3 separate regions of the Homo sapiens genome follow, and all the other regions are linked to region 1. Evidence: promoter capture Hi-C in 16 types of primary human blood cells and fetal thymus (Javierre and others, 2016). All regions are on one chromosome and are shown on one strand. The core of a region is centred on a gene start or on the middle of the fragment in contact, and the rest is flanking DNA. Distances in the headings are between cores, read along the strand shown.

Region 1 (4,944 bases), core at 1,351-3,850:
AGACGGTTTTGCCATGTTGCCCAGGCTGGTCTCAAACTCCTGGGCTCAAGTGATCCTCTCTCCTTGGCCTCCCAAAGTGCTCCTTGGCCTCCCAAAGTGCTGGGATTACAGGCATGAGTCACTGCGCCCAGCCCCTCTCCTCTTACTGATTCCACAGGGCTGTCTCAGGATGCTGGTGGCACGGGGCAGAGAGGGCATGGTGACTGTTCATGGACACAGCAGCCCCTCGAGGAGGAGGCTGGAGCCATCCTCATATGGAGGAGAAGCAGGCATGGTGGTGGCCCTAGCCCTAGGGAAGGGTGGGCCGCACCCTTCCTTCAGGAGAGCGAGTGGCCAGCTGCTGTGGCCCTCACATGGAGGGTGAGGGCTGGCCCGAGCACCTGGCCATCAATGTCCTCAAGCAAAGGGGAGGGCAACTACCTAATAATATTACCTTTTAGCTATTTCTCTAGGCAGGTTCCCCTACCTGAAAAGATTGCCCCCGGCTTCAGAGTGTTTCAAGATGCCTGAAGTTCTAACACCAGAGATGGTTTCCTGCTGCTTCCAGGAACAGGGTCTGTTCTTAGTCCAATGTGGAGTTCCTCATGGGGACCCCATTCCCCAGGAATCCAGGTTCCACAGTACTCTGACTTGGTCTGGCTGGTCTCGGCTGGCACTTTCCCTAGGACTGCTAAAACCACGGTGAGGGCGGAGAGCTGAGGGCCGAAGAAGGCGGGGTGAGTGATGCTTGGGAGAGGGAGACAGGCTTGGCTGAAGCCCTGGGGAAGGGCTGAGGGCTGTGAAGGGGGCTGTGGAGGAGAGGTAAAAGGAGGGAGGAACACAGCCCTTGACAGGGCCTGTGAGGCAGGGGAGAACAGGGAGCAGGTACCGGTGGGACGGTGGCAGGGGAGGGGGGCCCATGACTTTGAGGGTGTCGTGTTGCATGTGCTGGGGGTGAGGACCCGGAGACTGGAGGAACAGGGCTCCAGGGCAGACGCATGGGCAAGCAGAGAGGACAGCCCATGGTAGATGGGAGGGGCACACAGGTGTGCTGTTTTCAGGTTGGCAGGAGAGGAGGAAGGTGTGTGCGGGGAGGCCCTGGAGACTGGAAGAGGAGAGGGGGCCCAGTGAGTGAGGGGCCCTTGTTAGAACCTGGGGGTGGGAAGGGGCCAAGGTGGGTGCCCTCCACCCCAGGCTGTCCCTCAGGCCTGTGCTGTGCCCCACAGTGCAGGCATCACCTGGCCCCACGAGAGAGCAGCTCATAGGTACGACTGACCACTCTGCCTGGCATGGTGGGGGCCTGCCTGTGCTGGCTCAAACCAGTTTTAGCCCCATGTTGCAGGTTAGGGAGTCAAGGCTGAGTGTCTGCTAACTTGTCTTAGGTCACTTGACCAGGGGACATTGGCCCTGGAGCTGGAAGTGAGACCGGGGAAACGGTCTCACTCCCTGGAAGACCGCCAGGGTGGGGAGTGTGACTCAGTCTCAGAGTTTGCCATGGAGTTGTCTCCCAGGCTCAGCACCCCCTCCTGGCCCTGGGGCCACTCCCTCATTTTAGGGGCCCATGTATGAAATGAGAATGTGCAGCCCCTTGCTCAAAAAGGAAGAGTTTCAGGACAGTGACGGCAGAGTGTTACTGGGCTCAGGGCCCTGAGTGACGGCAGGGGTGGCATATCTCATGGCACCAGGTGGGCCTGTGGTGCCTCCTGCCTCCAGCCCGGGGGCCTCAGCCTGGGCACTGCCCTCCACTTCCTGCCCGGGCCGAAGGGCGTGCCCCTCGCTCTCTCTGGGACTGAGACTCCATTTTAAACAGCTTTCTGGTTGGTTTCAGGTTTGCTGAGGTTTCTTCTCCCTTTCTGTCCCCCGTTTGAGGAGTTCTGATACTGATTGTTGCAGTTTGGTCTGAGATGGGCCCCGCTTCACTCTCTGTTGCCCTTTAGAAACACAAACTTCAGTCTAGACTCGCTGGTTCCTCACGACTCACTGGTCAGACGGCCACCGAGCCGGTGTCCGTAAGAGGAAAGGGCGTGGCATGGGCCGGGGCCTGGGCAGTGTTGGGTCCCGTGGCTGTGGGTGAGTCGAGCATCTAGGACAGGTCATAGGCCTCTGTGGAGGTGGCAGGTGGGCATGTGTGGCCTCGGGGAGGGCCTGTGGTGGCAGCGCCATGGCCAGGTGGTGGCAGTTTCCTTTGCATTAGCGCCACTCCATCCCTGGCCCGAGCCCTCTCCCAGGCATCTGGCTCCTCTATGGGTCAAGGCTGCCTAATGGTTAGGGGCAGCGGTGCTGTCATTGCAGCCTGGACTGCCGGCAAGCCACTTCCCCTCTGCAAGCCCCCATCAGAGGGACGAAACACCGCTTTGTGGGCTGCTGTGAATTCAGACTGTGGTCAGCCTTCGATGCACAGGTCAGACCATCACCAAAGAGATGGGACGAGACAGGCTGCTGCCTGTCTCCCTGGGCAGGGCTCCCCGCTGAGTGTTTCCTCTGCTTAGCCCTGGGCTCCCAGTCCACCCCACCCAGCCTGCCCCTTACCTCTAGCTGCTGGTCCGGGAGGAAGGGACAGGGGTCTGCGGGGCAGCAGGTGATCTCCGCCCGTGGGTGTCGGTGGTGGCAGGGGGCTCCTTGCCGCTGTGGGTGGAACGCTGGCTATTTAAGGAGAGGAAGGGAGACCACAGCCCCTCTGGCCCTGAAAGGCTGCTTCATTCCTGAGGGGTCCCTTGTTGTGTCGGGCTGCTCCTCTGGCTGCTGCTGCTGCTGCCACCGGAGCGTGAATATTCTAGTGTGTCCCTAGCCCATGCCCCCCGCCCCCAGCTTGGCCACATAGTCTGAGTGTGTGACTGTCTCAGAGACTCAGAGCAGGCGGGGGCTGGGTGGGGGGCTTGGGCTGGAGCTGAGGGACACAACAGGACGTTTCAGAAGGGGATGATTTCCTACTGATGGGGGGCAGGGAGGGGCCGGCTGTCATGGCAACAGGCGGCGCTCCCAGGCCTGCGCCCGCAGACGGCGGAGGGGGCCTGTGAACGGAGGGTGGGAGGCCGAGGAGTCTTGCTCACGGAGTGAGAGGCGACTCTTTGAGGACACTTGCTGTAGGGTCCTTGTGTCCTGCCCTGTATAATGAGGCCCCATTTGGGCACACAGAATAAATCATGGCCTTTATCTGGAGCGAGGAACAGCTGCAGGAGCCTCATAATGGGGCGCTGTCCTGTCCGTGAGGATGCGGCTCAGCTCAGAGGCCGGGTGCTCGCCGGTGCAGCTCCCCTTCTGCACGGAAGCCCATGAATCTGACCGCTGGCCTGGGGCTCCTCCCTGGGGTGGCTCCGGGCTGGGGTGCCTTTGAATGCTGCCGGCGGCCGCCTCTGAGACTGAGTGAACAAAGTTCATTTCTCTCTGTCTTTCTGAAAATGATACATCCAGCAACATGGGAAACCAAATCACCCTTCCTGGTTTCAAAAGACTTTACATTTTGTTGTTTAAACATTGAAAACTGTATGTATGTGGCTAGCATTTAAGGGGCAGTGTCTTAAATTTGTCTCTTCACATCACCCTGTGCAGCTGGGATTATTGCCCCATTTTACAGACAAGGAAACTGAGGCTCAGGCAAATGAAGAAACTCACCCATCAACAAACAGTAGGAAGCAACAGAGCCAGGATTTGAACCCAAGCACATGTCACTCCAGAACTTAGGCTCCGTGTGTGTGTGTGTTTTGTTTTTCTGCTGCATTTTGAATTTAGAATTCTTAGATTTGATCCTAATTCAACCTGAAAAAGAATTCTGAAGGCCACCTTTAGATCTGATGCTGTGATCTGGTCTGTTGAGAAGCTGTTTCCCATCTGGACTTCCTTCAAGAGAGATGGGCTTCCCAGTTTGTCTGGCCTGAGAGCCAGCTGGGTGTGAGGTGTCTGAGCCGGGGCGCAGGTCTCTTTCCTGTTGTGCCCGCAGGCGGCTGTCTGGAAGAACTGGCCCAGGCTGGTTGGAAAGGTGGTGGCTTGAAGCTAACCACCCTGAGCAGGGCATTTCTGGGCTCACAGACCTTCTGTTATTGGGGTGATCACTGTCGATGGCTTCAAGGGCATTGACCGTGGTGATGGAGTTTTGAGGCGTTGAGCTGATTCCTGCATCTTTGAGACAGAAATAATTCCTCGTGGGTTGAGTGTTGTCCTGACGCTCAGGAGGAGTCACCAGAATGTGGAGTGGGGTCATGGGGCCTACATGCTGAGTCTGGGACAGAGGCACCGCAGGGGGCATGGGCTGGCCGCCATAGGCGCCAGGTGGGGCAGCTCAGCCCCAGACCTGCTGAGGAGGTGGCCTGGGGTTGGGGCTGGGGCACAGGTGTCTGGGCAAGGGTGGGCTTCAGGGATTGTGGTGATGAAGACTGAAGCCACAGGCCACAACTGCTTCCCGTCGCTGGGGTGTAAGAGCCAGGGCTCTGGCCAGTAGTCGAGGGGAGATGATGCCCACCGAGGCTCCCTTCCTCTCTTGTAGAGTCATTCATTCACCGAGGCATTCGGTCAGCTGACCCTGAGCTGTTGCCCCCTGCTGGGCACATAGGGTCTTGGGGAGGCACAGAGAGCCAGTCGGCAGCTTAGCCAGTGACTGCTGGGCCTTTGTTTGGGCCCCTTGCCCTGCACACAGCTGATGATGAGACACCCCAGGGCAGATGGAGCACAGTGCTGTGCAGGATGGAGTCCAGACACCCAGCAGTAGCAGGTCCTGGGGTCCAGGGAGGGATGCTGAATGGGTGGCCCTGGCATCTGGGGTCTGCCCACCATAACCTGGGTGGGGATCTTGGGTCTGCGATTGGATCTCTTCCGTATCCTCCCTGACCAGCCTGTCAGAGGGGCCAACACTGGGCGTCGGGCAGCCGTGGAGGCTCGTGAGGAGTGGAGAGGGCCCCTGGGGCTGGGGGGCCTGGGAAGGGAGGCCTGGATGCAGCAGGAGCACCAGAGAGAGATTCGGGTGGCAGGTGG
Region 2 (4,944 bases), core at 1,172-3,671, 240 kb before region 1:
CATTTGAGGATCATGCAGAAGCCTTGAACCACCCAGCGTCTCTGCAGTTCTCCTTTCCCAAGTATATTATCTGCCCGCTGCTTGCTGGTTTCCATCTTCGTTTATTCAGTTGAGCCACAAATAATTGTATGCCTATTACATACCAGGTTTCTGTATTATGTACAGGAAATGAGAAGATAAATAAGAGACAGCCTCTTCCATATTTATGGCATATACTGCCCTCATTTTAGTTTCTTCCTCCTGTTCATAATTTCATTGTTTGTTTTTGCATCAGTTCAAACTGTTGCTTGCTTATGTGAGGTGACCTCAAAGTGACTTTTTGAAAGTCCTGACCCTTTGCCTTTCAACATCATTTAAGAACAGCAATAGCATCTGGATCTTCTCAGTAAAATGCCTTTTCAACAGCTCAAAGCAAGGCTTGTTTTTGTTTTAATTTGGGAATGTTTCAAGTGAAACTTAGTTCCATCATTTAATTCCTGGCAGCCCAATAACGAGGGGGCAATAACTCCCTTATCTGTGGGCTATTTAATGACTATATAGTACCATCCTGGGAGCAATAGACTAAGGCCTTCTTCCAGATGCCATGTTTTAAGGTTTTCAGCTGGAAAGACCGTCACTCCGTAAAATTTATTTTGATTATTTTAAGTCAGGATTTGGCCTTCTTATTCAGAAACAAAAAGAAAAAAACTGGCCCCTGGCTTTCTGCCTCCTGCACTTCTGGCTCTAGGCCATATGATCATCTAATTTCTAGTTTTTCAGGCAGACAGAGAAGGTTAGAAACTGGCAACCGTGTCCTCAACAGCAGATAAGCGTATCAAGTCTGTAACAGGAATTAAGAAGACTGCTATAGAATTTTTTTTTTAAGTCACCTCCTGTTTCACAAAGCATAGCTGTCTCTTCCTTTTCGTCCTCCTTGCCCATTCTCTTGGAGAAGTCCAGGTCCAAGAGGCACCAGACACTCAATTGACTAGGGTTTTGCTGCCTATAGGTAATTATGCTAAAAGTCTAGAGTAGTAGATCTTATGCTCGCATAATTATGCATTCTAGAGCAGAAGGTTTTTGCTGGAAAGCTTCACTGTTAGATATGATTTGCATTTTTTACTAGATACTTGTCTTTGGTCTTTGAGGACAAACATATCAAGGATTCCTTTGTGCATCAACAGAAAAGCAAAACACAAAACAGCCTATATGTGAGCATGGGGCCGTATTTTAATACAAGAAAGACATTGCTCTAGAACATGGCTCGCCTTTGCTTCAGGGCCTAGCAGTTTATTTTAGCCATAAGGGTAAGGGAGCAGGTCAGAAATGACTTTTAGTGTAATCCTATCTGTAATTAAAAATACAAATGCTGTCATAAGATCAAATGTTATCAAAAATCAGTATTTAAAATTAAATTTACCCCCAAATTTCTTTCAAAAAAAATTTGTAATGTTCTTTTTCAGTGAAGCCTTTGCACTGCTAGAGCTGAAGAATGTGATCAATCGGCTTGTTGAATAATCCTGCACAGTAGGTATTCCGCTGAAGCCAACTCTAGCTGGGGGCTCGAGAGCGAAAGACACAGATGGGGCCCTGCCGCCCCTCGAAGAGTCGGATGGGCGCGCCCGTCCCCGGTGCATCAAGAGGCTGGCCCGGCCAGGGGCGAGCGGCTGGCACCGAACCCCGCGCACTTCGCCGCGGGCGGGGCTGGGCCGTAGTCGGCTCGATTTAAGGCTGGTATCCAAGGCTGCGGCCGGTCAGGCGAGGCGAGGCGAGGCGACGTGAGCGAGGGTGCTTAGGGAGAACAGCCGCTGGCAGCTCAATGCTGGGTGGCTAACGCTCGACGGTGCCTGGCAGCAACCCGGCCGACAACCCGACGCGGATCCCGAGCTGCGTCGCGGACAATGCTGCGGGCCCGTCCCGGACTACGACTCCCGACGGGCTCTGCGACCGCTCCGGGGCGGCCCAGCGTGCACTGCGCCGGCCAGTTTTGACAGCCGGGCGCCCTACTCGGCTAGCTCTGCTCCCAGCCAGGGACGCTGGCCTTCTCGCGGCTTTCCCCCGATGTCTCTCTTTATTCCAGCTGCCTGAAACTCGGTCCCACGAATGGCAGGCAGCGTCCAAAATTCAACCCCGTAAAGCCAGCACCAGCCAATAAAGCGCACGGATGGAGGCCACGTGACAGCAGTGGGCCGGCCCTCCGGCTGAGCCCTGATCTCTATGGTTTCCGCGGCTCGCTAGAAGGAGTGTGGTCCACTGGAGGACTCCCTACATTCTTCCTCCATTACCTCACTGCCTCCGGTGGCTGCTGGGATACCGGAGGACTCGGGTCCCGGCTCGACTCAGTCCTCCAGCCGCCCGGGGAATACCTCTAGTTCTTCCCGGCCGCCGCCGCCGCCGCCGCCCCGCCGCTTCCTCCTCCGCCCGCCGGCCTCCTTCGCCCCGCCCCGTCCGCGCAGCGCGTCCGGCCCGCCCGCAGGCCAGCTTCTCTCGGGAGCCCCCACCCAGGCGCATGGCTCCATGAAGCAAGAGGAGGAGGCAGAGCGCGAGAGGTCCCGTCCGCCCCAGCCGCGTCTGGGCCAGGAGAAAAGGTGGGAAACTCGGGCTGCGCCGCACCCTTCTCCCCGCTGCCGGGCCAGGCCTCCCTCGGTCCGCCGCCGCCTTGCCCGCCGGGCCTGTTCTCGCCGGGGCGGGCGGCGGGGCCGGGAAGAGACCCCGCGGTCCTGGGGCGAGGGTCCGGGGGCAGCGGGGGGGAGGAGTCCCGGGCGGCGGGCGGGGCCTCAGGCCATGTCCCAGCGGAGGGCAGGGGGTCGGGAGGCACTGCCGGGGAGGGGCGGGCGGCGCCGTGCCCCGGGCCGCGAGGCTCGGCTCCCGCTCCTGGTCCTTGTCTGCACTCCCTCCAGGAAGCAGGCTCGCTCGCTGTAAAGTTTGGTGGTCTCCGGCGCCGCCTGGTGGCCCCCACCCACCGTCCCGCCGCCCCGCCGCCCCCTCCCCCGCCCGGCGTCTGGATTCCACCCCCGCGGCTCGGCCCAAGCTGCTCTACCCGTCGCTCCATCGTCTCCCCAACTCCCCAGCGCCCCGGACCCTCTTTCCTCATACCCTCGTTTCTCACCTTTCACCCTGTCCCTCGGCCCGCTTTTCCCCTCCCCGCTCTGTCCTGTCGTTTTCTTAACACTCTTCACACGCGCACTTTCTCCTCCTCCTCTTCTCTTTTTCGCACCCCTACTCTTGGGCCCTCCTTCCTTAACCTCCGCTGGCCCCCCATTCCATGATCCGTCCACCTGACACGCTGGGTTTCATGCCTCTCTTTCCCAGGCTGTGGGTTGTGCCCTTCACTCCTTGCCCTCCTACATTCCCTGTCCTGATCTGAACTCCTCTCCTTGCCATGCTCCCTCACCCTTATCCCTCTGGGCCTTATCCTCTTTCACTGCCCTCTCCTAGGATAGAGTGGGTGGGGCCTCTCCCACCCACAGGAGATGTAAACAGTCTCCTGTTTACTTACATCTTTGGGAGTAGCTCAATTCTCTAGTAGTGGGGAGAGTTGGTGAAGAGATCAGGAAGAGATTTCTTCGAGACTAAGGATGGATGACCCTTAGCAACAGTGACCGTCTCCTCCCGGCATAGCAAGATGGCCTGCCCTCAGGTCCCTGCCTCTGGCGTGCTGTCCAGTAATTCTTCAGTTCTGTCTTTGCAGAGGATTGGGAAATTTATTTGTGTTCTGAAACCGGCGGAGAGCTTTTAAATGGTCTCTTCTGGCCTGAGAGCAACTTTTGCTCTGCATCTGTGGTGGGGAAGTTTTAATGTGCGTCTCATGCTCGAGTTCAATAAATAAAACCTTTGATTCTCAGTGTCCTCCCTTCTTGCTGATGACGCTAAGGATGAGATGATTCAGGGCATGGGACTTCACGGCTGCCTCAGATTTAGAGTTTGCAAGGTTTTGAAATAAGGAGAGCCTGTTCTCTAGCTATTTGCTGTGCCCCCCACCCCCCCGAAATTGCTCTGTCGAGTTGTGATTTTTCAGAAACCGTATCTATCTTACCTCTGCACTACCTGGGTGTTTGTTCACTGCACCTGCATTTCCGTCTTAGGTACAGGAAGAAGGAATGGAATCGGAAGGAAGAAAATTCATTCCAGAGACAAAATAGCTCCCCTCCTCTGTTGTAGCTGTTCCTCTGGCAATACAAACTTTCTGCTTTCAGTGAGTATTATCTTGGGCATATTTAGAGTAGAGCATCGTTGTAGTTTTTGATTTTAGGCATGTGCTAGGATTTTGGGATGTAGGTGTGTTTTCATTTGTATTTTTCTACTTCCATGAGGGGGTCCTAATGTTGATGAAGTTTTTCCGCTTGTTCCCTTTTAAAATAATTTAAATATGCAAAGGCAAGTTTGTTTTTCATACTCCCATTAGAGTGAGCTAGGTGGTGGCGTGGCATGATCTTTCCTTTATATTTCTAGTTTGTAAGGTCTGGCTCCTCACCCTTCCCAAATGAGTTTCTCAATACAACCAAAGAGGTTGTCTTAAGTTTTAGGGTAATTAACTCAGAGGTTAATGCAGTTCCTGATCAAAGTCAATTATTGGTTCTCTTTTCTATAGTTTCAGTCCTGAGAGACTTTTGGAACATTTTGTCCTAAATTTGCAATAGTGAAGATATTTTCTTGAAAATCCCATCACAGATTTGAAGATAATTAAAATTTTTCACTGTAAACTTGAAACAAAGTTCTGGGGAAAAATTATGACTGCTGTGCCCTCTTGAGTTGATTAATGATAGTATGCTAACACTTAGGAGAGAGTTTTCAGAGTGTTTCACTTCTTGGTGAAGCCTCCCAGCCCCTCTGAGGGACACAGGGGATAAATGTTTTTATTTTACAAATGAAAGAACTGAGGCCCAGAAAAATGTGGCACCTTGCTACAGGTCACATAGAAAACAGAGGGGAGGTGAAAAGAGTTTTGACTCCTAGGTACATGTT
Region 3 (4,944 bases), core at 737-3,236, 140 kb after region 1:
CTCACTCTGTCACCCAGGCTGGAGTGCGATGGTGCAATCTCAGCTCACTGCAACCTCCGCCTCCCAGGTTCAAGTGATTCTCCTGCCTCAGCCTCCCTAGTAGCTGGGATTACAGGTGTCCACCACCACGCCCAGCTAATTTTTGTATTTTTAATAGAGACAGGGTTTCACCATGTTGGCCGGGCTGGTCTCGAACTCCTGACCTCAGGTGATCCACCACCTCGGCCTCCCAAAAGGTGTGAGCCACCTTGTCCAGCCTAGAGTTATATTTTTACAAAACAGAAGTATGTATGAGAAAATTCGCCTTTTAAAAAAGAAAAAATCTAGCTCTTCACGGTCAGTTTTCTGTAGTAATCTGAGGGCATGCTTTACAAATCTGTTTTGATGAAGGCTGGTTATATTTCCCCATTTGGGGATCCAAATAAAACCATTTCACTGATTGGCTTTCTGTGGGGGTGTTTCTATATGGGTATAGGACAAGAATTCTCCATTTAGGTGCACATAATCCTGTATTTTAAAAAAATCACAGAAAAAATTTAATGTTTTATTATTAATGGTTTTTTTTTTTTTGCACTTTCCTAATTTTTTCTCACTTTATTTTTCAGAATGAAACTAGTGATCGAGAAGATGGCCTCCCCAAAGGACATCATGTGACAGACTCTGAGAACGATGAGCCCTTAAATCTTAATGCTAGTGACTCTGAAAGTGAGGAGCTTCACAGGCAAAAGGACAGCGACTCTGAATCTGAGGAACGTGCAGAGCCTCCTGCAAGCGATTCTGAAAATGAGGATGTCAATCAGCATGGGAGCGACTCTGAGAGTGAAGAGACCAGGAAATTACCTGGTAGTGACTCTGAAAATGAGGAACTTCTTAATGGGCATGCAAGTGACTCAGAAAACGAAGATGTTGGGAAGCATCCCGCCAGTGATTCTGAGATTGAGGAGCTCCAGAAGAGTCCTGCTAGTGACTCTGAAACAGAAGATGCTCTAAAACCTCAAATCAGTGACTCTGAGAGTGAGGAACCCCCAAGGCACCAAGCCAGTGACTCCGAAAATGAGGAGCCTCCCAAACCTCGAATGAGTGATTCTGAAAGTGAGGAGCTTCCTAAACCTCAGGTCAGTGATTCAGAAAGTGAGGAACCCCCAAGGCACCAGGCCAGTGACTCTGAAAATGAGGAGCTTCCCAAACCTCGTATCAGTGACTCAGAAAGTGAGGACCCTCCGAGGCACCAGGCCAGTGACTCAGAAAATGAAGAGCTTCCCAAACCCCGAATCAGTGATTCGGAAAGTGAGGATCCCCCAAGGAACCAGGCCAGTGATTCGGAAAATGAGGAGCTACCCAAACCCCGAGTCAGTGACTCTGAGAGTGAGGGGCCTCAGAAGGGGCCTGCCAGTGACTCAGAAACTGAGGATGCGTCCAGACACAAACAGAAGCCAGAGTCAGATGATGACAGCGACAGGGAGAATAAGGGAGAGGATACAGAAATGCAGAATGACTCCTTCCATTCAGACAGCCATATGGACAGAAAAAAGTTTCACAGTTCTGATAGTGAGGAGGAAGAACACAAAAAGCAAAAAATGGACAGTGATGAAGATGAAAAAGAGGGTGAGGAGGAGAAAGTAGCGAAGAGAAAAGCTGCTGTGCTTTCTGATAGTGAAGATGAAGAGAAAGCATGTAAGGAGTTACCTTGGGCTGTTTATCAATGGCTTTATTCATTGTCTAAGCTTGTAACTGTGGAACATTGTATCCTCTTGGTATGTCAGATCTGTGTTCTGTTATTCAGCTTAATATTCTAAAATATCAGTAGGACACTCATTTCCCCTGGTTATCATTAGCTAAGCTTAATAGTAAGTTTCCTTGGAGTTCTATTAGCACATATTAATCTCTGACTGCCTCAAAGTGATAAACCACATGTCAATAGGAATATAAAATACTGTTTTTTTTTTTTAAAACTGGAAGAGGTAATGTTTCAAAGAAATACGTTTACATAAAAACCCCTAACTGTATTAATTGTTAGCTGTGGGTCTCTTTGACACTTAGTTCACTAGATCCCATCCAAACAGTAACAGCTCCCACAGGTACATCTCTTCATTTGTTAAACATTGTTGAATATTCAGATACAGGGAAGCTTTGAGAGGATTCTATTTAGAGACACCATCTCTCTCCAGAGTGTTTCAGTCTCTGCTATCTAAGACTCCATTTGCACAGATAGTATTACTTGTCTACTTTTTTATGAAACTTATCTTTTTTGGAAAAGACATATTTCATTATAACCTCACAGTTCTTATAGGAGAAGGAAAAGGTACCAGACATGCTGTCAATTTGTTAAGGGAGATGAGAAATTTCAAACTGACCAGCAATGATAGAGGAACATGGAGACTATTCCTAGAAAGAAATATGTAGTCCTTTTTAGTTCAGTTACTACTAGGCAACATAGAAAGGATGCCAGTTTTGCCCATCAATCTAGTTTTAATTTTCTCGATTTCCCAAAAGGAAAGGTGGCTGCTTTTATATTGATGATATCTTTCTTCATCTTTTGGCCAGTTTTTCTTAAGCAAAATAACAGATAATTTGTAAGATGACTCTGAATGAGCCATTTAGTTATTTTAAAAATTCTAAACCATGTGTCAGGAGGCCCTCTGATTTTATTTTATTTATTTATTTATTTATTTATTTATTTATTTATTTTTGCTGTATACTGCCATCTTAAAGCACCTGTTATGCTTAGTAATACAATGGCTGTGATAAAATAAAATTAATGATGATTTTCTTTTTCAACAGCAGCAAAGAAGAGTCGTGTTGTCTCTGATGCAGATGACTCTGACAGTGATGCTGTATCAGACAAGTCAGGCAAAAGAGAGAAGACCATAGCATCTGACAGTGAGGAAGAAGCTGGGAAAGAATTGTCTGATAAGAAAAATGAAGAGAAGGATCTGTTTGGGAGTGACAGTGAGTCAGGCAATGAAGAAGAGTAAGTGACAGTATAACATGAGTTTTCAGGGGTTCTTAATTAGGCAGTAGAGAGGGGTCTGTGTTATAATACAATATGTCCTGCCTAATTGCATGTCTTTGGGGATTTAGTATTTTAGTTCCTGAACTGAACACACTACAATGTGGGTGAATCTCAGAATTCATCTCAGAATTAACATGTTAAGTGAAAGAAAGCAAAGAGGACATATATGATTCCATTTACATGAAGTTCAGTAGGCAAAATTTATCTGTGGTGTTGGAAGTCAAGGTGGCAGTTGTTTCTAGGATGTTGATATTGGGGACCAGCTAGAAGGGGCCATGAGAGGACTTTCTGGGGAGGCTACATGAGTGTATAGGGTGCTGGTTACATGAGTGTATATATTTGTTAAAACTCATTGAACTGAACACTGAAGATCTGCACATTTTACTGTACATAAATTCTATTTTTTAAAAAATGGTTCCTATGCAAATGAGGATAAAGCAAATGAATGTTTTTACATTTGTCTACTTTCTAGAAATCTTATTGCAGACATATTTGGAGAATCTGGTGATGAAGAGGAAGAAGAATTTACAGTAAGTATAAGATGGAAATATTTCCTCCTTGATTGTGCTTTTTTTTGGTGTTTTTATGGCAGTGATACCATTATAGATGATTCTAATAAGTAGGAATAAACAATTATGATGTATTCAAGATAAAAATCTAGAAGAGGGATTCAGGAAGTAAAATGAAAGCGTATATACAAAGACATAAAAGGAAGCTAATGGGCAAAATTGAATTAAGGGGGAAGGGACACTTTGAGACAAAGAAAGTCACTTTATAATGCTAAAGGGCAAGATTCACAATAATTAGGGAACTTCCGATTTTCACAGTGGCATTCTAGGTGATTTGGACTAACCCCTCTGCCAAGCACAACTAGAAAAGCTAGACAAAAATATATAGAAATCTGCTCATTATCTAGGAACAAAGTAGCAAAGAATTACTAAGCCAAGAGAAACCTAAAGTGGTAATTCAGTGTTTAGAAGTGCTTTTTCTGTGGGGGTGTTTGCCTGTCAGGCTGAGAGGCTACTCATATTTTTGACAGCCTCAAGGCTTGGGGACAAAATTTAGAGTTCGGGGCCTATTGAGGTTAGGGGGCTTTGTAAACCCCATACCCTGGATTGAGACTTCAGAGAGCAGCACCATAAGATTTAGGGGGAAATAAAATAGCCTTTGCTCAGATTTTAGGCCATCTTTGAATCTTCTGGCAGACTAGAGAATCTCAGTCTCAGAAATAAGATTACAGTGGTTTAAGTTTTTCATATGTACTTATTATACACAAAAATAACATTAAAAGGTAACAGTAATGATGACAATAGTAATAGACTTAGGGCTCTAGATATAGGAATTTTAGATACCACCTTAAATATGTTCAGGGAGATAAGAAACAAGATTCAAAATGTCAGAGCAAACAAAAAGAAGGCAAATTTGGAAAAGAACCAAGTAGAAATTTTAGAACTATAAAAATACAGTAACTGAAATTAAAAACTCGATGTACAGGTAGGTAGGTGCAAGTAGCTGGTAGTCCCAGTTACTCGGGGGGCTGAGGCTTGGGGGTAGCTGGAGCCCAGAAGTTCGAAACCAGCCAGGGTAAAATAGTGAGGCCCTGTTTGAAAAGAAAAATGGGGTGGGAGGGGGTGGGGAAAACAGAAAACTTAGTGGATGAGTTTAGCATCAGATTAGACATACTTGAAAATAAGTGAACTGGAAGATGGCTTAGAAGGAGAGATCTGGAATGAAGCTTCAAGATACAGTATTACAGAAGAAAGGAAAAGATATAGACTATACATCGAAAAGTTTTCGCAAAAATTGGAATAATGAAAGGAGAGGGAAAGTTACATGTATAGCAGAAGCAGTATTTTAAAAGGAAATGATACCTAAACCATAGATTCTCGAAGTTGTACACATTGCAAGGAAGATAAACAAAAAGAAATCTA

The links. Contacts are between HindIII fragments. The CHiCAGO score rates a contact against its expected background, and 5 or more counts as called.
Region 2: the fragment with the promoter of AMMECR1L here is called in contact with the fragment with the promoter of GPR17 in region 1 in 2 of 17 cell types (neutrophils and total CD8 T cells); the score reaches 6.2 in neutrophils.
Region 3: a contact is called between a fragment that was not itself captured here and the fragment with the promoter of GPR17 in region 1, in 1 of 17 cell types (total B cells). The highest score is 6.8, in total B cells.

What each region holds. Positions count from the first base shown.
Region 1 is chr2:127,643,809-127,648,752 of GRCh38, reverse strand. It overlaps GPR17 (G protein-coupled receptor 17), which reads right to left and starts at 2,600. Exons shown (of 2, transcript NM_001161417.2): 1 at 2,509-2,600. All of the region lies in intron 4 of LIMS2 (LIM zinc finger domain containing 2), which reads left to right. The HindIII fragment of the contact is 22,539 bases long and covers 1-4,944 here.
Region 2 is chr2:127,883,433-127,888,376 of GRCh38, reverse strand. AMMECR1L (AMMECR1 like) reads left to right here and starts at 2,421. Exons shown (of 8, transcript NM_001199140.2): 1 at 2,421-2,567; 2 at 4,065-4,174. It overlaps LOC107985944 (a long non-coding RNA gene), which reads right to left and starts at 1,259. Exons shown (of 2, transcript XR_001739707.2): 1 at 1-1,259. It also overlaps the pseudogene LOC107985803. RefSeq lists silencers at 1,541-1,590, 2,301-2,470, 2,481-2,530 and enhancers at 1,821-2,080, 2,091-2,170, 1,955-2,550. The HindIII fragment of the contact is 4,247 bases long and covers 1,073-4,944 here.
Region 3 is chr2:127,501,414-127,506,357 of GRCh38, reverse strand. IWS1 (interacts with SUPT6H, CTD assembly factor 1) reads left to right here. Exons shown (of 14, transcript NM_017969.3): 3 at 606-1,674; 4 at 2,782-2,971; 5 at 3,486-3,543. Among named protein-coding and RNA genes, the nearest start is that of IWS1, 23 kb to the left of the region's middle. The HindIII fragment of the contact is 288 bases long and covers 1,843-2,130 here.